Regions from separate parts of the Homo sapiens genome. Here regions 1, 2, 4, 5 and 6 are each linked to region 3. The links are contacts of gene promoters, found by promoter capture Hi-C in human tissues and cell types (Jung and others, 2019). All regions are on one chromosome and are shown on one strand. The core of a region is centred on a gene start or on the middle of the fragment in contact, and the rest is flanking DNA. Distances in the headings are between cores, read along the strand shown. Region 1 has its middle 11 kb from the start of MIR8070. Region 2 overlaps GALNT18 (polypeptide N-acetylgalactosaminyltransferase 18). Region 3 holds the start of GALNT18 (polypeptide N-acetylgalactosaminyltransferase 18). Region 4 overlaps GALNT18 (polypeptide N-acetylgalactosaminyltransferase 18). Region 5 overlaps GALNT18 (polypeptide N-acetylgalactosaminyltransferase 18). Region 6 overlaps GALNT18 (polypeptide N-acetylgalactosaminyltransferase 18).

Evidence for each region. Contacts are between HindIII fragments. The study calls those that stand out against the background at their distance.
Region 1: a fragment that was not itself captured here is called in contact with the fragment with the promoter of GALNT18 in region 3 in 3 of the 25 tissues and cell types used here (heart left ventricle, liver and mesendoderm cells).
Region 2: a contact is called between a fragment that was not itself captured here and the fragment with the promoter of GALNT18 in region 3, in 1 of the 25 tissues and cell types used here (aorta).
Region 4: a fragment that was not itself captured here is called in contact with the fragment with the promoter of GALNT18 in region 3 in 3 of the 25 tissues and cell types used here (H1 embryonic stem cells, aorta and dorsolateral prefrontal cortex).
Region 5: a fragment that was not itself captured here is called in contact with the fragment with the promoter of GALNT18 in region 3 in 1 of the 25 tissues and cell types used here (mesenchymal stem cells).
Region 6: a fragment that was not itself captured here is called in contact with the fragment with the promoter of GALNT18 in region 3 in 1 of the 25 tissues and cell types used here (H1 embryonic stem cells).

Annotation. Positions count from the first base shown.
Region 1 is chr11:11,792,078-11,795,411 of GRCh38, forward strand. No RefSeq gene overlaps it. Among named protein-coding and RNA genes, the nearest start is that of MIR8070, 11 kb to the left of the region's middle. The HindIII fragment of the contact is 5,691 bases long and covers 1-3,334 here.
Region 2 is chr11:11,421,663-11,424,951 of GRCh38, forward strand. The region is part of intron 3 of GALNT18 (polypeptide N-acetylgalactosaminyltransferase 18); the gene reads right to left. Among named protein-coding and RNA genes, the nearest start is that of CSNK2A3, 70 kb to the left of the region's middle. The HindIII fragment of the contact is 5,192 bases long and covers 1-3,289 here.
Region 3 is chr11:11,620,702-11,623,986 of GRCh38, forward strand. GALNT18 (polypeptide N-acetylgalactosaminyltransferase 18) reads right to left here and starts at 1,304. Exons shown (of 11, transcript NM_198516.3): 1 at 658-1,304. The coding sequence starts at 892. RefSeq lists enhancers at 1-154, 1-46, 787-836, 1,047-1,126, 1,244-1,744 and silencers at 327-396, 417-496, 1,247-1,606. The HindIII fragment of the contact is 13,654 bases long and covers 1-3,285 here.
Region 4 is chr11:11,379,989-11,383,151 of GRCh38, forward strand. The region is part of intron 3 of GALNT18 (polypeptide N-acetylgalactosaminyltransferase 18); the gene reads right to left. Among named protein-coding and RNA genes, the nearest start is that of CSNK2A3, 28 kb to the left of the region's middle. The HindIII fragment of the contact is 3,628 bases long and covers 1-3,163 here.
Region 5 is chr11:11,467,945-11,471,261 of GRCh38, forward strand. All of the region lies in intron 1 of GALNT18 (polypeptide N-acetylgalactosaminyltransferase 18), which reads right to left. Among named protein-coding and RNA genes, the nearest start is that of GALNT18-AS1, 100 kb to the right of the region's middle. The HindIII fragment of the contact is 5,610 bases long and covers 1-3,317 here.
Region 6 is chr11:11,446,376-11,449,661 of GRCh38, forward strand. GALNT18 (polypeptide N-acetylgalactosaminyltransferase 18) reads right to left here. Exons shown (of 11, transcript NM_198516.3): 2 at 2,369-2,561. Among named protein-coding and RNA genes, the nearest start is that of CSNK2A3, 95 kb to the left of the region's middle. The HindIII fragment of the contact is 8,293 bases long and covers 1-3,286 here.

The DNA.
Region 1 (3,334 bases), core at 317-2,816, 170 kb after region 3:
GCTTACTCCTTTTGAAGATGTATTTTTTGCTGAGAAATCAACTATTGTATCTGTTTTCAAATGTATAGCCATAAAGATGCATGTAATACCCCTTACAATTGTTTTTATCTCTATCACTTCTAATTTTATAGTTTTCTCTTTTTTCTTTAATCATAGAACCAGTGTTGGAAGTCTAGTCTTTCTGCTTCCAGCCCTAGTCCTCACACCACTGCTCCATACCACAACCTTGGAGGCTAATTAAGGCTGAATCAAAACAATTTTGACTGATATGATGTAAAAGACTTAGTCAATTGAAGAAATCAGATTTTTACACAGTTCAAATTATTCTTATTTTTACTTTTAAAAAAAGCTGTCTTGGCATAAGTAGAATCAACAATAAGACATATCCATGCTTGGCAAAATCTTGGGAAATTTGAGTTCTTATTTAACAAGCAGATTCACTGTTTTCTTGATCCTAAAACTGGTTTCTGACCAGCACTGATCATTTCCATGGAGGAAACAAAATCTATCTGAATCTGAATGTTATTTAATTCTTGAAAATGGTATTCAAACTAACATGAGATTTTATTCAGTTTAATAAAATACTACCTAATTAGGAAGAAGCTTTACTACTATCTCTAGGGATATATTAATATCATTAAGAAGAACATATGCTTGAAAATTATATGTACATTTATAATTTTGTTCCCTTCTGAATAGAAAAGACTATTTAATTAAGATTATTACTATCTTTAAAGTTTTTCTCAAGGGAAATGGTCTTCATGCTAAGCTACATATCTTCTATGGAAAAAAAATTGTCTAAAAAACCCTGAAATTCTACAAGTACATATGCTCTGGTTGTATCCTAAGGAGAACTCCCTTCCTCCCTCCCTCATTATATTTCTATTGTACAATATCAACCAGGGTTGCTTGCATGTGCTTGCTTGCTTGCTCTGTGATGATTTTTAACAATTTTTTTTATGAGCAAAGTGGAGAGATAAACCAATTCTTCATATAATTTATACCAAGAAAAAAAAAAGAAGAAGAAGAAGACAAAAGAATACGGAGCCTAACAGGAGGGTGCAGAAAAGTCCACCTGCTGCAATCCAGACAAGGATACAGATGACTGCTCATCCATCCATTTTGCTTTGTCCTCAGTCTGAACATCTTCTCTTCCCCTATGGTGAGTGTATTTCCGTTTGTCCCATGCTCTTCTATTTCCCTTCTATTTCAGGGTTCCACTTTCTTACTTCCCTTGCCCTGTGTATAATCTGGCCTCTGCTGATACTGTTCTCCCAAAGACCACCTTCCCTGTTATAGGTGAAACTGTGTCACAGTTGGAAATTATATCTGCACAGTTAAAAATTATATCTGTCTTAACTGATTACATAATTATTATATAATTACTATAGAACCAGCGCTGAACGCTAGTCTTTCTGCTTCCAGCCGTAGTCCTCATGCCACTGCTCCTATATCGCACCCCTGGAGGCTAATTAAGCCTGAATCTATAAATGGAAATCATTTTGACTGATTTAAAAGACTTAGTCCTGGAACTTAAAATTAAATTAAATTAAATTAATTTTTTTAAAAAGACAAAATGACAGGGGGACTCACATGATATCAATCTTCAATCTCTTCTAAGTACATTTAAAAGCACTCCAGAAGCATCAGTATACACATATCACAACATTCTTCATCCATTGTTGAGTCCAATTATTGTTGAATATTTTGTTTTTGCCAAATAGCTACCTTTGAGGAATTTACAACCTAGTAGCCACAAACTACAAATTTCCCTAGTTATAAATCATTCTGGTTATTGGATTTTTAATTATATCATACCGAGCATGTACAAAAGAAAGTTTTATATATATATAAATTATGAAACATAACAATGAAATAAATATCCTATGAATCTACCACCTAGCCTAAGAACTAGAATATTCCCAATGTCCATGAATTAACCTGCAAGCCCCTTTATTATCCCCACCAGAACTAACCACTCTCCTGAAATTTTGCGTGTATCTTTCCTTTGCTTTTCTTATAGTGTTATTCCATATATATGCATTTCTAAACACTAAATTAAGCTTTGCTTTTTTCAAACTTTTTTTAATGGCATTGTGCTGTATGGAGTCTTTTGTGATCTGCTTTTCTTTATTCAGTATTAAGTTTTAAGATTTGTTCATGCTATAGCTGTGTAGCTGTGATTTGTTCATCTTAACTACTGTATAATGCTTCATTTTATTTATCTAGTCTCATGATGATGGACATTTGGGATGTTCCCATTATTTTTCTATTACAAATAGCACTGCTAGGAACATTTTTGCACATGTGTGGTGTTTATAAACAAGAGTTTCTCTAGGATATACCTAGAAAGAGAAATGCTGGGTCCTGGAGCATATTCATTTCCAAAATGGCTATATCAATTTATAGTTCCCTCAGTAAGGTATAGTTTTCCATTGATCTATATTCACTCCAATAGTTAATATCAGCAGATTTATCTTTTAAATTTTGTGGATTTAGTGAATGTGTAATGTTATCGCTATTTTAATTTATGTTTCCTTGATTATCAATAAAATTTAGCACATTATCATAAAAAAGAAATAAAAAGACTTAGTCAATTGAAATCAGATTTTTACAAAAATCTGTGTATAATCTGACCACAGATCTGTGTATAATCTGACCCTAGGTAAAATTTGACCACAGATTATAATCTGTGTATAATATGATCTGCAAAGATGCCAGCAAACCACCAGAAGCCTGGTCTGCAAAGATGCCGGCAAACCACCAGAAGCAAGGTGAGGGGCATGGAACAGATCCTTCCCACCCAGTTCTTGAAATTGTCACCTAATGCTGCAAAACTATAGTTCATTGATCCTCTTCTGCTGTTTCTTCCCATCTTCTCTGACTTCTTTTCCTCCACCCCCCAAAAATGTCAGTGCCCTCAATTTTCTATCTAAAATCATTTTATATCTAAAATTATATAATAATATAAATATTATATAATTAGTTAAGACAAGGTCATACTGGAGCAGGGCGGGCTCCTAATCCAATATGACCCGTATCTTTACAAAGAGGGGAAATTTGAACAGAGACATCCACACAGCGAAAATGCCATGTGAACATGAAGACAGAGATTGAGACGATGCATCTATAAGCCAAAGATGCTGGCAAACCACCAGAAGTGAGGTGAGGGGCATGGAACAGATCCTTCCCTCACAGCCCTCACAAGGAACCAACCTTGGGACACCTTAATCTAAGACTTCCAGCCTTCAGAACTGGAAGACAATAAATGTTTGTTGTTTAAGCTGTCTCGTCTGTGGTACTTTGTTACAACAGCCCTAGCAAACTAATATAT
Region 2 (3,289 bases), core at 180-2,679, 200 kb before region 3:
CAGGGAAGTCATCCCAGGCTGCTGCACTGCTGTTAAGTCAAGGCCACCCACTGGGAAGAAACAATACTTCTCTGCAGAGTCTCTGCAGAGTCTCTGCAGAGGTCAGGACTGGCCACGCTGCTAGCACACAGCATCTTGATGTACTTGGCCAAAAGGTGCCTTCTCTGGACTATGCAGTTAGAAAAGGCACTTTGGAGACAGACTCACACCAGGATGCATAATTTAGCAAATAGACAGCACAGACTTTATTTTAGCCCCTACGTGCCCCTGGCCTGGGTGCCCTGGCATAGAATCATGCATGGCAGCTGAGAGGTAGGTTCAGAAATGGACACAGTTGAATCAGTTGAATCTGTCAGATATCTATATCATCTATATCTATATCATCTATATCTATATCTATATCTATGAGAGAAACTTTACTTCCATAGAAAGTGGCCAAAGCAGGGCCCAGGCCTGGGGTCAGGGCTTGAATCAACAGGGAGAGATGGGCATTCAATACTCAGAGTAGCCAGAAACTCAAGAGTCATATAAGTCATTACAGTAAGAGCTTGGGAAAGTGCTGCTGGACACCACCAGAGGAGATGTAGCAGTGGCCATGCCCAAGAGGAACTCTCAGGCCTGGTATAGGATGTGGCAGGCAGAGGCAACCTCAGGCAGCAAGGAGCAACAATAGGAGAACCCAGGACTCAGGTGGTACTGGGTGGTGTGCACCCCAAGGTTGCCAGGTATTTGCTGCCAGTCTTGAGGGTGAGCCAGCCTAGTTGCACTGGTCAAAGCCATAGAGGCAGGCAGTGGCAAAGAGCCTTTGGCTGAACGGGCTGACAGCCCATGTGCTTGGCTGTGTAAACACCTTTAAGCTGCCTGAGTCTTGGTTGTAATTTGATTAGCTACATGGGATTCTTTAAGCTCCATAAAGCACAATACTGTTGGACCATTCTTTTCCTCTGTTTTTTTTGTTGTTTTTTTTTTTTTAACTTTTGCAATTATTCCAGCTGCATGCAAAGCTGTTGGTAGTTTTACAGCCTGGAATGAGTATCTCTTGTGTAGGACAGAATCTTTGAAACATTAAACAATGATTAGGCAGACTCTGGGCCAAGGGATAATGGGGGTTCTGCAGGGGGTGGGGAAGGACCCAGCAGCTGGTGGCAAGCAATCTGGGGAGCTCTGTTTCTATTTCATCACTACATTGACTTTCTTACCAACAATTAAAAATAACAATGATTCACAGTTGTGCAATTATTTGTCATTCATCAGGATTTTGAAGGTGGCTCCAGGTAGCAGTGGGTGGTGAAAGAGGCTCAACCCATTGTTAGTGGGGACTGAAACACCACTGTTCACACAAGCACACACAAGCCCACGTGCCCATGTGCCTGTATATGCTGCTTATGCATGCACACTACTGCGTAAGTGCGCACACACAGGTCCGCATCCACCCACAAGCACACTCACACACAGACACACAATACACACACAAACACAGTGCTCACATGGATGCATTAACACATACATGTGTGCACACATGCACACACACACTTGTATGCATGAATATGAACACATGGATATGCATGCAAGGCATGCACACAAACACATGTGTTATATGTATGTAACACGATACACATGTACACAAACGTATGTGTGCATACATGAACAGAGTACTTGCATATACATGTATAAAGATGTGCAGACATACACATGCACATACATGCACACTCACACAGGCATGCCAATTTCTCCCTATTTCAGAGAGAATAGGAAGCTGCCTCCCTCTCACAAGGTGACCTAAAGCATGGCTGCCAACTGTTCAATTACCTCTCACCCAACAGAAGCCAGAAAGCCTCTATGCAACCCATCTCTCCTTCTTACTGAAACCCCAGGCAAAGCTCCAGGCAAAGCTTGAGGCTAGGACACAGACACACCCTTCTCTGAAGTTCCCTTTTTGTCTCCTACTTCACTGGTCCTGCTGCCCAACATCTCTCTCTCTCCAGAGGGAATGGAGAAAAGGGATAAGGACAAAATTCAAATAAGTTGTTTGGAATCAGAGACCCATGGTGTACCAGAGGCAAGCAGCCTGTTTAATGGTAAAGGGTGTAGACGCTGAAACCAAACAGTCAAATCGCACCTCTGTAACTCTGGACAAATTCCTTAACTTCGCTGGGTCTGCCTCCCTGTTACATCAGGTGACATTGGTAATGGTCCATACCACCATCATATGGCACTGATTAATTTATGGTGAAGTACTTAAAATAGCTCTGGCACATACTAAGCGCTCAATGAGCTGGGGGCGCCTGGTCAGGACTCTTTCTATCTAGGGGCACTGGGGGTCACTTGAGTCTCAGGCCCAGGCCTGGAGAAGTGGGGGTCAAACTCCAGCCCGGGCCAGTGGCAGCTAGCTGAGTGGTGCCCAGCTGGAAGCCTGAACACCAGCCTGGGAAACCCTTCCTGGCCAAGCCTGCCTGCTGCCCCCAACAAAGTAGATGCAGGACCCCAGCCATCACCTGCACCCAAGAAAGGACCAGGGAGGCTCACCTACGTTGGACCTGCCATTTTAGTGCATGTGGCGGCTGTCCTGGCTCTGGTCTGCCCTCCCTAAGAAGCAATGGGGTGGGCTGGCTGTCAGGAGAGAACCAGAGAGGAGGTGCCCAAGTTGATGCCTCCCAGGCTTCCAGGAGTGGGAGAGTAGAGGAGATACAAGGTCCAGGGCCAGCGGGCCTGGATTTGAATTCCTGTCCTAGCACTTCCTGGCTATGTGGCCTTGAGCCTGTCCCTTTTTTCTTTTTTAGACCCTCTGAGACTTAGCTGCCTCATCTATGAAGTGGAGATGGTGACCACATCTACCTCCCTGGGAGATCATGACTATTCTTTTGTCAACAAAATTGACAGAATGACTACGATGAGCGGCACACTGGGTTAGTTGTTGTTGGGGTCTGGAGATGACCAGGATCATGTTCCTGTCACACTGGTCACCTTGGCTAGTCTGACCTAAACTACTCACTGTAATTTAGTCAGTCAATAACCAGGTAAAACACAGCAGGATAAGGAGGAGCCAGGGTGCGTGGGAGCACTGAGGCCAACCTCCTAATCCAGCTGGGGCGGTGCTAGGGGCAGAACCATGGAGGAGTTTCTGGAAACAGTGGTAGTAACGCTGACTTTGGAAGTCTGGAGCTAAGCAAAGTGGGTGGGGTAGCGGAGGACATTCATTCCCAGCAAAGGAACAAACCAGGATGGTCTGGCTATGGGCCACCATGCCCACAGATAGTGCAGACAAGCAGGAAGAAGTGCATGCTGGACA
Region 3 (3,285 bases), core at 54-2,553:
GCTCCTGGAGAGGGTCCTGGACCCGCGGGCTGTGGTGGGGGTAGGGACTGCTATAGGTTCAAGCGGCTTTTCAACCACAGAGGGCTCCTTGCATTCCCTATCGCCTACCAACGGGATCACAGCAAGACTGGGGCTGGGGCTGATACAACGCAATTTTCCTAGCCTCGCTTGTCCGGCAGCCTGCGGGTCTTAACTGCCAATAGTCAGGGCCGCCGCGCGGGCATCTCGCCTGACGCCTACAGTGGCCAAAAAAGCTCGTTTGCCCGCGCGTTCCCTCTTGTACACACACAGACATTCACATGCACACACACTCTGAGCCGGACTTGTGTGCGATCCCGAGAGCCCGCGAGCAACCAGCCCAGAGTCACACGCACATTTGGACACGTGCGCAGCGCGCCCCCATACCGCCAGCTAGCTGCACACATCCGCTCGTGCAGCCCTGCGCACACACGTGTGCCCCGGGGAAGAGCGCACGGCCGCAGACAGAAGGTCCCGAACGCAGGCAGGAGCTCACACGCAGGCCCCACGACTACCACGCATCTGCGGCCCCAGAGCCCCGCCGTGGCTGAGTTGATGCGCACCAGCCCCAGCGCACCCCGCGCCGCGCGGGGCACTCCCGGGCCTCATGGGCGACCCAAGTTTCCGGGGCGCCCGTACCTTGAATGTGCTGCTTGATGACATTCTCCAGGTGGTCCAGCCGCTCAATAATCTTCAGAGTGTCCCCTTTGTCTTCCTCCAGCTTCTTGTCGGGCGCCGGCTCCTGCCCCCGCACATACACGCTGGCGATGTAGTTGGTGACCCAGCCCACGTAGAGCAGGCAGATGATGTTAGTCATGCCGCTCAGGATCACGCAAGTGGACACCAAAGTTTTGGTCTTCCTGGTGCACACCATTCTGGGCTCCTTCCTCCATATAGAGCTCCCGGGGGCCCTTCCTTGTCGTGCGCCCCGAACTCCCCCGCGCTCGCACCCCGTAGCACGTCCGGAGCCGCTGGGCACCTCAGCACCTGAGTCCCGAGGTTCTCCAAAGCCCGGTCCGCTGCCGGTGTAGCCGCCGTGCCCAAGTTTGCAGCTCCTGCCGCTGGCCACCCGGAGAGACCTTGACAAAGGAAACCAGGTGGATTTTTTTCCAAATTAAAAATCCCTGAACCCTTCCTAGAGGGGTCACGGGTAGCCGGCAGCCGCGCGTCCAGATGTGTACGTCTGGGAAACTTTGCCACTGCCTGTGTCGGCGGCCACGCCGCTTCCCATCGCCAGCGCCGGCTGCCTTGGCGGTCCGACCGGCCCGCGCTGCTAGGAGAACAGCGGCAGCGGCAGCGGCGGCGGGGAGAGCCGCGAAGCAGAGCGGCCCGGCCCCCTCCGAGCGACAAGCGCTGCCACCAATCGCGCTCCGGCTCGGGAGAGGGGCCGGTGCTGAGCGGCAGCGGACCAACGGGGAGGGAGCGGGGGGCGGAGTCCAGCTCCCAGGCCCCACCTGCTGGCCGCCCCTGGCTCCCGCCCCCAGGGACGCGCCCGGGCCTCCACCCGCGCCTGCACAGGCTGCCCCAGACCTGAAGCTCCCGGAGAGGGCGCGCTGCCAGTCCCAGCCCTTAGGTCGGCAGCTTCCTCCGTTAGGGGAATTCCATCTCTTGCTCTTGGGCAGGAATCTCCTGGTTTTGTGGAGGGGGTGGGGGGTTCGCACGGGTCAGCTTCTTTCATCCGCCCGGGGCTTCTCGCATTGGTGCCACCAGTCGACTCCTGGAATCTTTTCTTGGTTGCCAGGACGCTGAGAAGCCAAGGAAGTGCCAGCCCCAGCGGCATCCACTCCTTCCTTGGCCTCACTTGGGCCTCCACCCTGCCCTCTGCCCTTCAGCCACCGGCCTCCTGAGTGTGTCCAGACCTGGCCCTAAACCTGGCTGAAAGGAGCCAACCCTCCGGCAACCTCCCAGAAGCAACATTGGTGACCTATTAGATGACTCTCTCGACCACTTCTTCCCCCCCCCCACCCCCCACCCCCCACCCCCACCGCCTGCCCCAATTTTTGCCCCTATCTAGGTTTTTCTTTAAGTCTGTACAGCTCCCAGGACATGGATGTGTCCTTTAAGCCCAGTTTTCATTTATGTGGAACCAGGGTCATCCAGTGCATAAAGAAACCCTGCAAGGAAGTGCCGCTGAGGGGAACTGAGGTCTGTGAACTGTAAAGCCCTTCTACATGTTGTTTATGATTGCTATCATAGAGGGCGGTGGGAGAGACCTGTGACTGAGCACAGGAGGAGGCCAGACGCAGACAGTGATACTGCTGTGTTTGTTCTTACTGCCAATGTTTACTCATATTATCCTCTTCTGCTGAACACCCCGTTCTCAGCACCTGAACGGAATTCCTTTAAACAAAGACTTTTTACAACATAGATTTCCTGCCTCTTCTCCATCTCTGAGTTGCTTTATTTTTTTGGCCTAAGCCAGGGAGGCAGCCTGCTGCATGCCCACTTTGTTGTGTGCCAGCCTTCCAACCAGCCACAGAAATACTCAGGGCAGCTCCATCCTGGGATATCTTCTGGATTCAAATGACTGGCCCCACAAGAGAGGGAGAGCACAAAACCAAAGAAAGGGCACTTTATGGCCCCATCAGCCAAGGGCCCTTCTACCAATGCTTTGTTTACAAAACCTCCCCAAAGATGCTATGAAAACAGATACCAACTAGGGACCCGGGAAGATTTCCCTTGATCCATAGCTGGAAGAGAGAACAGTGGGTGTGGGTTGGCGTGGGCTGGGGTATAGAAGGGGGAGAAGAATCGTGTGTATGGTATGTAGGAGATACATACATGAGAGGAGAGAATGTACACAATTTCTGAAAAAATCAAGGTAGAGAAATCTGCCTCCAGGAGGGAGTAAAACTTGTCTCTCCCTTTTTTCTCTTCCAGAGGTATAATCCAGCTCACAAATAAAGGATCTGAACTTTCTTCTGGTTGGACAGACTTACAAGCAATGCCCTTGAGTACAGGCTAAGGTGTAATCTTTCCTTCTGTTCTGCCCCCTCTCCCAGGAGGAGCCCTGGAAGTTCAGCCCTTCTTGGGATCTTCCTAAACCACCACAGGACTAGAAAGAGAAGGCAATACTCATTCTTTTCACATTCTTAATGGAAAAAAATTAAATCCCAAGTTTAAAAAAATGAGGGTCAAGAAGAAAACAAAGTGAATTGTGTGATCTTAAATTTTGTACAGCTGATCCTCTAAGATAATGTGTAACTGTAGAGGGGATGAATACAACAAAAGAAGAATGCTGAACAGGTTCTCCTCTCTGAAAAGTCA
Region 4 (3,163 bases), core at 198-2,697, 240 kb before region 3:
AGCTAAGGCAAGAGCCCATGACAGCCCTCACAGTTGGTTGGACAGGATTCTAAAGTTCCTTTTGAACCAAGCATCCATCCCAAGGTGTGAATTCCCTCTGTCTGCCCTGATGAGTGATCATGCAGCCCCTGCAGTAAAAGGGAAATCCATGCAATCCATTCCTTAGAGGGCCTCTTCAACTATTAGATGTTCTTCCTTCTTCTGACCTCCAAATGCCAGGGTCCCTCAATCTTACATTCATGAGTCCAATGGGACCTATTTTGGAGCCATAGAAGACAGATCAAGTCCCACTTTCCACATAACAACTGAAGCCCATTCTTAAGTCCTTGCTAAGGACTTCTCTAGGTCAAATATCTTCAGTTCTTCCTTGTGTTTCCGCATATTTCATGATTTCAAATTCTCTAATCATGTTGAACTTCCCTCTAATTAAGTTAGTTTTTCTTGAACCCTTTCATATTATGCAGAAGTTGACCTAATACTTCTAAAGTAAACTGGGCTATACAGAATAGAAGAAATAAATCACCTCCCTTAATCTAGAATCTATGCTCCTATTAATATAATCTAAAGTCACAACAACTTTGATTGCTTTTGTCTCAAATTAAGCTTACTGCTAACATATACTTACAAATTATTTTTACATGGTGCTACTAAGTCAGGCCTCCTCCATCCCATCTCTGTGGATGCGGGTGCATGTGCAGGTGCTTGTGTGTGTGTGCACACATGGGTGCCTGCTCTGAGTCAAAACAAAGAATCTTATGTTTACTTTTATTTAATCAGCCTTTCTAAAGATTTCCACTATTTCTTTGGAGGTCAAAGTGTTTTTGTCCCCTGATTTCATTACCCAATGTCTTTCTTATCCAGCCCTTCTAGGTTTCCAGCTTCTGCAAAAGTGATGAGCATATGGCCTTTCTTGTCATTCAAGTGATCCTTTTAAACAGTGTGACCCCTGTCCTAAGCTAGGGCTGGTGGGGGCTGTCAGTGTCCTCATTCCAGCCTGGAGAAAACTCGACTGACTTCTGGGCTGCCACTGACATGCTGTATATCTCACTGCAGTCCATACGGAAATGACCTCAAGATCTCCAATTGCTGCAGCTGCCTGGGGAGGTCACTGTCCCACAAATGTCAGGACATTGGCCATGGAGCAGCATAACTCAATATGTCTCACACTTACAAGGTCTTCAAGCACCGTTGCCAGGAGGCTTCTTAAAACATTTACTGTTTTATCACTTCCAAGGTCCATTTCTCATATATCCTTTTTGAAAAATTTAAATAGAGCTCATAAAGTCTGATATCTGGGTTTTTGATGGTGGCAGTTAAGTGTTGAGTGCACAGAACTTGAAGTGAGAACTGGGCTAGTACCAAATGGCCTGATACAAATCCCCTCTCTTCCCCATGAAAGGGATACCTGTCCCCTTCTCTCCCTCCTCAACCCTCAGGTGAGACTCCTGCCAGTTGACTCCTGCCAATACCTACCATGACTAAGGTATTGATGGGAGGAGGCTGAGGATGATTGCTACCAAATGGTCTCCTATGAATTTCACCTCTCTGAATTCACATCTTTGTGTGGCTGCCTCACACACTGAGTCTGGGCTGGACCGTGACACAGCAGGACACAGCAAGAGGGACCCTGCGCAAGTTCCAGGCCTTTTGCATTTGCTGTCTTGCTGCCCTAACTAAGGAAGGTCTAGGCAGCCTCTTCCCCAGCCCAGTCATTAGGCCACCCCACAAAGGCCCCAGACAGGTGAGTGAGGCCCTCGTGGATCCTTCAGCCCCAGTCGGGCCACCAGCTGATTGCAAATGACAGGGAGAGCCATTGTGTAGAGCAGAGACAGGCTGCCCAGTGATCCCAGCCTTTATTGCAGGATTCTGGGCCAATGGATGGTTGCTGATTCACACCATAACTTCTGGAATGGTTTGTTATACACAATGGCTGTAATAAACATTTTCTATTGTTCTGGTCCGGTGCTGGGGTTAAAATAAGATTGTGAACTCCTGATGCACAGGAAATGCAATCAGAGGAAGAATGAGCTTTGAGGGGTGGCAGCAAGAGATGGAAAGCTTTGCTTCCTATAGGAGCTACTTGCCTCTTTGTACCTGCGAGCTCTGTTAACACTGAGCTAGAGTAAAGGCTTCTGGTGGACCAGATAGTAGAAAAATTCCATCCCCAGTTAGTTGCATCCCAAACATGTGCTGCTGATTAGAAGAGGGAATTCTCTTAGCCCCAACCAAACAACTGCTATCCAAAAAAGAAAATAAAGAAGAAACAAAATGCCTTGAAGTACCCTAGATGATACTGGCTCTGTCTTTGCAAAGTACCTTTACTTAATTAGGTTTTCATGTTTTCTTTCAATCTTTGTTAAGTGCCAAAGCAAGAAAGAACTATCCCAAAAATACTTCTGCGTTGGCTGGAAAATTGCTTTCCAAAACACTGTCCATTGTATATTATATATATTGACTATTAACTATTTTATATACACATAAACACACACACATACCTGTTCACATATAATATCTCTCAGAACTTCTTAGCTCCAAAGATTGTGTTTTTGGAGTTGAACTTGTGTTTTTTCTTACAGCCAAACACAAGTACCCAGCCCATCATATTTGCCTTCTTGCTAAGGCTGCCAGGAAGCTCAAAGACAAATATAATGACTAATCACAAAGATTTTATCAGGATTTTTGCTGCCCTATCTTTGCTAAACCTTTGATTTTCTGGTTCAAATTTAAAAGCTGATTGACTTTTACCTTTTATTCCCTATGCAAGCTATCTTTAATTAATTTTTTGAAATTTCTATAAATAACATTTAATAAAGTGTCTTGGTGGGTTAGGACAGTAGTATAATTGTGGAAGGAAAAGGGAAGGTATATTTTGTGCTTGTTTTAATGCGTTGGAGAAAGAGGAGGCAGGGAGTCTGCTTGCTGTGACTCTGCCAGATCTAGAGTCAATGTGCAGCTGTCGATAGCCCATGTTGACAGAGAAATACAATTTGCACCCTGCATGGGGCCAGGTGTCATCCTGCTTATGTTGCTACTTCAGCTCTCTCCTACTGTCCACAAATCCCTGATCTCCTGACATTGGAGGGACCTCTGTAAACCAGCACTACCAGAAGCAGTGATGAAACACCACTCACTCCTGGGAGGTCACAGGCCACTCTCCACATCC
Region 5 (3,317 bases), core at 691-3,190, 150 kb before region 3:
TAAGAGATTCTAGGGAAGAAGGTCTGGGTCAGGATAATTACTAAGAAGTCTTAAGAAATTAGCCCCTCCCTAATCAGCAGAACTTCAGGTCAACTAGAAACATCTCAAATCTCAAATAACAAAGCAAGCCTTCCTGTCTTATCCTCTGAGAAAAATACTGTAATCCTTTTATATATCATAAATGTTGTGCTGGTAAAATACCATGCCTTCTTTCAGATGTAGTAATATGTTATCATTCTCCTCTGTCCCACAGCCTTTGGAAGTTTAATAACTTATGACTGCAAGGTCTGTTTTCCTCATCTGAACGTCATAATGTTTCATCTTCCCTGCCTGAGCATGGAAAGACCCACCTCCCCAAGGCAAGTTGTTGAGGGCTCCTGAATATACTCAGGTGTAGAAAGAGAAGTCTGTCAAGGACACAGGCTGTGGCGGTCCCCAGGCCCCCACTGGTGAGTGCTCGCCTCCTTCCTGCCTGCCATGCAGCTCTAAGAAACAGCCAAGTCTTGTTTTAAGATTCTGAGTCTTTTCTCCATACCACAAACTTCTCATGTGTTTCTGAAGCAGTGCTCCCCAGCATACACTTGGAGAAACAGATGGAAAAAAAAAAGCTTCCAACCAGCCCTTGCTCTAAGGGCAGGTGAGGCTGGGGCTGCAGGGAGGTTGCTGGGAGTCAAAGCCAGGCCAGGTTGCAGGACAGAGGATCTCAGGGACTCTTCATTGAGCCCCACTTTCCTGAGTCACTTGTAGTTAAGATTCTCGGGTCTGGGGGCTTTTTCAAACAGGATGCTCGCTAATGCTGGTCTACCACTCCACTTCAAGGATGACCAGCTTTGTAAGCAGCTGTCACTGAAGGGGGTGTGGCAGATTCTACAGGTGCTGGTGCTGGAGAAAATGTTATAAACCACCGAAAGAAGGATACAGGAGTCCAACAGGCTCCCTGCCTTCAGCGACCTTCGTTCTCCAGTGTGAGATGGATAGGTGAATGAGTATTGCTGGTGGACCATCATTGCACATGGGGCTGGCTGGCTGGCTGGACAGATGGACAGTCCTATAGACAGATGGCCATACAGCGGTTGCCAGGGTTTGGTAGGGACAGTGTGTTGGGCACAACCACTGCCTCTTGAGATGAGGCCACCAGGACACAGCACTCTTTAACCACGTCACTGTGAATCAGCCAGCTCTGATGATATTATTTTTTGGATCCCGGTAGCCAAGAAAAGCAGTCTGAGTTGCTATAAACATAAAGAAGCCCGTCTGCTTTCTTGCCTCTGTGAATGTCTCAGACAGTGCAGAACTAACGAAGGCCCCAAACCATGGTACCAGACTGTTCCCAGGGACTTCACAGAGGGAGCAGATGAAAGGCATGGAGACAGCGCTGAAAGCCTGCCCCTCATTATAAGCACTTCCAAGCTTCACAGCAATAGACAGTCCTCGTCAAGTTTGTTGTTATGGCTATGTCTTTTACAGGGTCCAGTACAGATCTCCATGGCAGAGACAGGCTGCTGCAGGGCTCAACAGAAGCCCCTGTCCTCTAGAGAGCAATCCCTGGTCCCCTGACCCCTAATTCACTTCTTCTCTAAACCTCACTGGATCTGCATCTTGGTGATCAACCTCTGACTTGTTTTCAGTTTGATCCATGAGGGCCATTTAGGGCTGCTCACATAGGCTGTGAGCTCTCTGAAAGCAAGGATCATCCATGCCCTTGTCAGCTGAGGGTCTCAGGGCTGGCTACATGGACGGTGTTAAGCAGATTTGCTAAAAGGTGGACTGTGAGTTGGTTGTTGGGGAATGAGTATAGGCTCCCTTAGGTGTTTTCAGCTTCCTCTTGCAGACTTTTCCAAAGGTATTTAGGGGCTCAGGTGGCAGTTAGACATGGGGCCTTTTCCAAGGACCCCCTCAGCCTGTCTTCCACTCAGCTCCATTGGAGAAGAGCATATTTAAGGACATAGTCATTCCATCAGGCCCCCAGAACAGGGTCCCTAGTCACAAGCTTTCCAAAACATCACTGGTCTCCAAGAGGATTTTGTTCTTTGAATGAATTGAAGTCCTGTTTGCTTGCCTTTGTAACTGCTTCCCATAGGAACCTTTAGAGAAAGACTGTCCCTCCAATCTGCTTCTGCCTCTCAGGTTACTTTTGCCAATTGACAGGGACACTTGGATGAGGATGGTTTTGAAGCTGTGACCAAGATGTTTCCCTGCCTTGAGAAGTCTCACAGCCAGCCCCCATCCATGCTTGACCACAGCTGTTACTTTCATTGTGTCACTAAGGGCAGAGACCCTGTACCACCAGGTTCAAGGCCAGGTCTTCAGTCCTCAGGCCCTAAGGTTAAGACCCAGGCACCAAGGGACATCCACATTCTGTCTCTACATAGTCCTGTGCAGGCATGGAGGAAATTGTACGGTCATGCCCTACATTCATATCTTGATCTATGGATGGGAATTTCCATCTTAGAAGACAAGAAGAAGCCCCCTATCCTTCTCCATTTATCTCACTTTCCCTCTGTCATCAGTGTGTGAGGAAGGCGCTATCCTCCACGCAGTCGGCTAGGCAAGTGAGCATGCTGTAGACCCCATTATTCCTATGCTAGAGGCTTGGGGATAGTGATAGGATGACTAATCGCTAGCTAATTTTGATCTTTTGATCTGTATATGATTCCTGTCTACTACTAAGCTAGCTGAGATATTGGCAGAGACAGGGGATTGACTGAAAGACCCCTTTCAGGCTCCACTAGCTGGGTCCCTTGGCAAATTCTCAGACCCCTTCCTTCCAGAGAGCTTCTTCCTGCCCCTGTGAGCCCTGTGCTGGGCAGCATCTCCCCAGACTACAGAACAGGAAGGACTGCCAGGAAGTCAGGTACCATGGTGTCTCCATGCTGCATTCTTAGCCTCTGACCATCTGTGGCCCCAGGACACTACTGTGCTCAGTGGGATGTTTTCCCCCTCCAGGTCCCCCTCCTAAAAACCTTTGCCTGAGAATCAAACGTCCTGCCAAATGGCTTCTTGATTTCTCCCCATTCATACTCAGGGGCCCGGGCACATCAATATCCCTCTTTCTCCTGTATCTTCCTTCCCTGCCTTTCCTCAGGACCATTTTCTTCCATCATCCTTGTGCTTCAGTCTCCCTCATCTAAGAAAACCTTTTCTGGGTCACTCTCATCCTAGCCTCTCATTTCCCCCACTTGCTTCCATTCCACTCCTTTTTTAAGAGGTCTACCCTGGCTTCCGCCTGTCCATCCGTCCTTCTGGTTGGCTTTCTACCTCTCTCATGGTTGCAGCAGTTCCCCAAGGGCAGGACTGTGCATTCAGAACATGGCGTC
Region 6 (3,286 bases), core at 101-2,600, 170 kb before region 3:
TGTGCCTGTGTTTTGTAACAGATTGACTGAAAAGTCCATGGCTCTTCTTCTGGCCAAGGTCATGGCCAAGTCCCCTGCAGGAACTAGAGGGCCCTATTCCTGATGATCTCTTCTCCAGAGCCCCTGTGTGCTGCCCCCACCAGACCAGCTCCTCTCCAGACCCAGGAGTGGTCTCTGCAGCTCCTCTGTGGACTGAGGCCCCATGACACTTAGCTGAGGTCACTTTCAGGATATTTCCAGAATCCAACCCCATCTCAGCACCTCCCCTGCTGCCATCATGGTCCAGGCCACCACTGCCTCTCACCTGGAAGCCTCTTAATTGGTCTCCATGCTCCCAGCCTTGCCCCCTCGGTCTGTTCTCAGTATAGCAGCCACAGGCACCTTTGCAAGTGACAATTAGCATATTGCTAATCTGCTCAAGCCCTTCCCATGGATCTCTGTCTCACAGAGTAAATGCTGCACTCCTTGCAAAAGCCTATGAAGCCCTTCTCCTGGGATTCACCTTGACTGCACATCGGAATCACCCAGGAGCTCTAAACAATACTGAAGCTGAGTGCTGCCCCAGAAACACTTATCTAATTGGTCTGGGGTGTGGCCTTGGCATCAGGATTGTTTTTTAAGGCTCCCGTGATGTGTAGAATGGGCAGCAAGGTTGAGAACCACGGCCCTAATGATCTGCTTCCTGTTGCTCCTCTGGCCTCATCTCCAACTACTGCCCCCTTACACACCCCATTCCAGCCACAGGGGCCTCCTTCCTCTTCCTCAAACATGACGTGCCATGCGTGCTTCTGCCTCAGGGCCTTTGCACTTGCCACTTCCTCTGCCTGAAAGGTACTCCCCCCATCCTCCAACAGTACCCTCATGGCTTGCTTCCTCTTCTCCTCCAGGTCTTTGCTCAAATGTTACCTCTTACTGAGGTCTTCTCTGACCACGCAGGAAAAATTGCAGCTCCCCACTCTTGTCCCAGGTGTCTCTCTCTCTCTCCGACTTTATATTTCTCCATAGCACTCACCACCACCTAACATACTGCATATTTGACTTCTTTGTTTTGTTTACTCTCTGCCTCCACCCAACTAGAATGCCAGCTCTGTGAAGCAGGGGTTTCTGTATGTTTTGTTCACTGCTTTGTCCCTTGTATTAGTCCATTCTCATGCTGCTATGAAGAAATACCTGTGACTGGGTAATTTATAAAGGAAGGAGGTTCAATTGACTCACAGTTCTGCATGGCTGGGGAGGCCTCAGGAAACTTACAATCATGGTGGAAGGCACCTCCTCACAGGGTGGCAGGAGAGAGAATGAGAGCCAGCAGGGAAAATGCCAGACGCTTATAAAACCATCAGATCTCATGAGAACTTACTCACTATCAGGAGAACAGTATGGGGGAAACCACCCCCATGATTCAGTTACCTCCTACCTGGTCCCTCCCACAATATGTGGGGATTATGGGAACTACAATTCAAGATGAGACTTGGGTGGAGACACAGCCAAACCGTATCATCCCTGTGTCTAGACTATGCTGGCACAGAAGTGCTTAATAAATGACCTGCAAGTGAAAGCACATTCTTCTCTCCCTTTGGACATCCTCAGCTGCTCTTTCATCCTAGCCGAGCCAGGTTCTCCCTGAGCCACAAATAACCATACCCAATTATACAGTATACAGCAGGTGTTCAATGAATGTCTGTGGAGCTGAACTGAATCTTCTCCCTAAAAGAACACGGCCTCCAAACCCAGCAGCAAGATCTTTCTCAAAGACTCCAGATATAAGCTCACTGTGGTTTGCAGCTTTTAAAAAAATGTAAAAATGAGGAGAAAAGGGGGAAAACACTGTGGGGGGGAGCTCACAAAAATTAATGAGATTTTCTCAGCTGAGGTACATGCCCACATTTTCAATAATTGGGAGTAGTAAGAATTCTCACTGAACCTTAAAGGAACATCCTTCTGTAACAAAGAGAGAAGTCAAGACAGACTTCTCTGTCAGATGTAACGACTTGTTAGCCCCACAAGATAGATGTACTTTAAAAACTAATTTACAGAAAAAAGATTATGCATAAAATGCAACTAATTGGGTTAAAATGACGTATTAACAGGAATGTGAGATGATTGTAGTGTCCTTAACGAGTAAATTAAGTTGTTAATCCTCAAAATCTCTACTGGAAGAAAGCTTTGCCCCTACTCAGCTAATGGAGAAACTGAGGCTGAGGGAAGAGGAGAGTGACTTGCTGAACGCAAGCCGAGGGGACAGGCCCTGGCTGAAGCAGGAAAGGGACCCAAGAATCCAGGCGCCCAGTCCTGCTCTGTTCCCAGCACTCTGGGGACCCCATCTCCCCATAGGCAGGTCGACAAGGGCCCAGTCACTGACTCTGCTCACCCACTGGGTCTGAGGTCAGGCAGGGGCCGGTCCAGGGGCAGGCGGTCGCTGAGGTAGGCGTTGTAGCCGTAGTACTGGAATTGCTTCAGGGCCACGCGCCGGCCTTCGGGGCTGAGCTCCTGGCCCCAGTGTGCAAACAGAGAGGAGTCTGTGAAGGGCTCGGCCTCTGCCTCCTCAGGCTTGGCAGGAGCCTCTGGAGAAAGAAGGAACAGGAGACAGTGGGTCAGAGTGCACCCCTGCATGTGCCATGACAATCCCTTTCCCTTCCTCACAAACAGCCTTTGGTAAAACAATCTTAGCCCCTTCTTTCGGGGTCAGTGCTGACTTGGGTTTTCATGCTTCCCAAAGACCCATTCATCCATGAATCCATCCATTCATCTAACCCACAACCACCAGGCACAGGAGTTAGAGAAATACACCTGACAGGGTCTGCTGAGAAGCTAATGGATGTGACATTGATGCCCCATGGCTTCAAGTCAGGACCCCCTTTTTCCCCAGTCTGCCTCCCTGCCAGAGATGTTGGCCCCAGCCCTCAAACTGGGCATCTGCTTCTCTGTCCCTAGCCTGTACCCCCATTTCCTGCAATTCCCAAGCCCACCCCACATTGAGGCACCCAAGCTGGGAGTCTACTCCTCCACCCAGTTCTTGCCAGCCCTTCTCCCTCTTCACTGTCTGGTCCTCCAGTGAGTTGCCTGGTGCACCATGTGACATTCACCTGGCTGTCAGCACCCCGGCCAGACTGCCTCCTGCTGCTTCCAGACACTGCCCACCAGAATAGCAAATCCATGACACAGGTGACAGCCAAGCCACACCCAGCCTGCCCTGCGCTCTGGGCCCTGCTCATGGGAGCCCTTGTGGACTTGGTGGAGGCAGCTCAAGGCCAGCACATGGTTTCCCAGGAACTTCCCAGAAAAATGG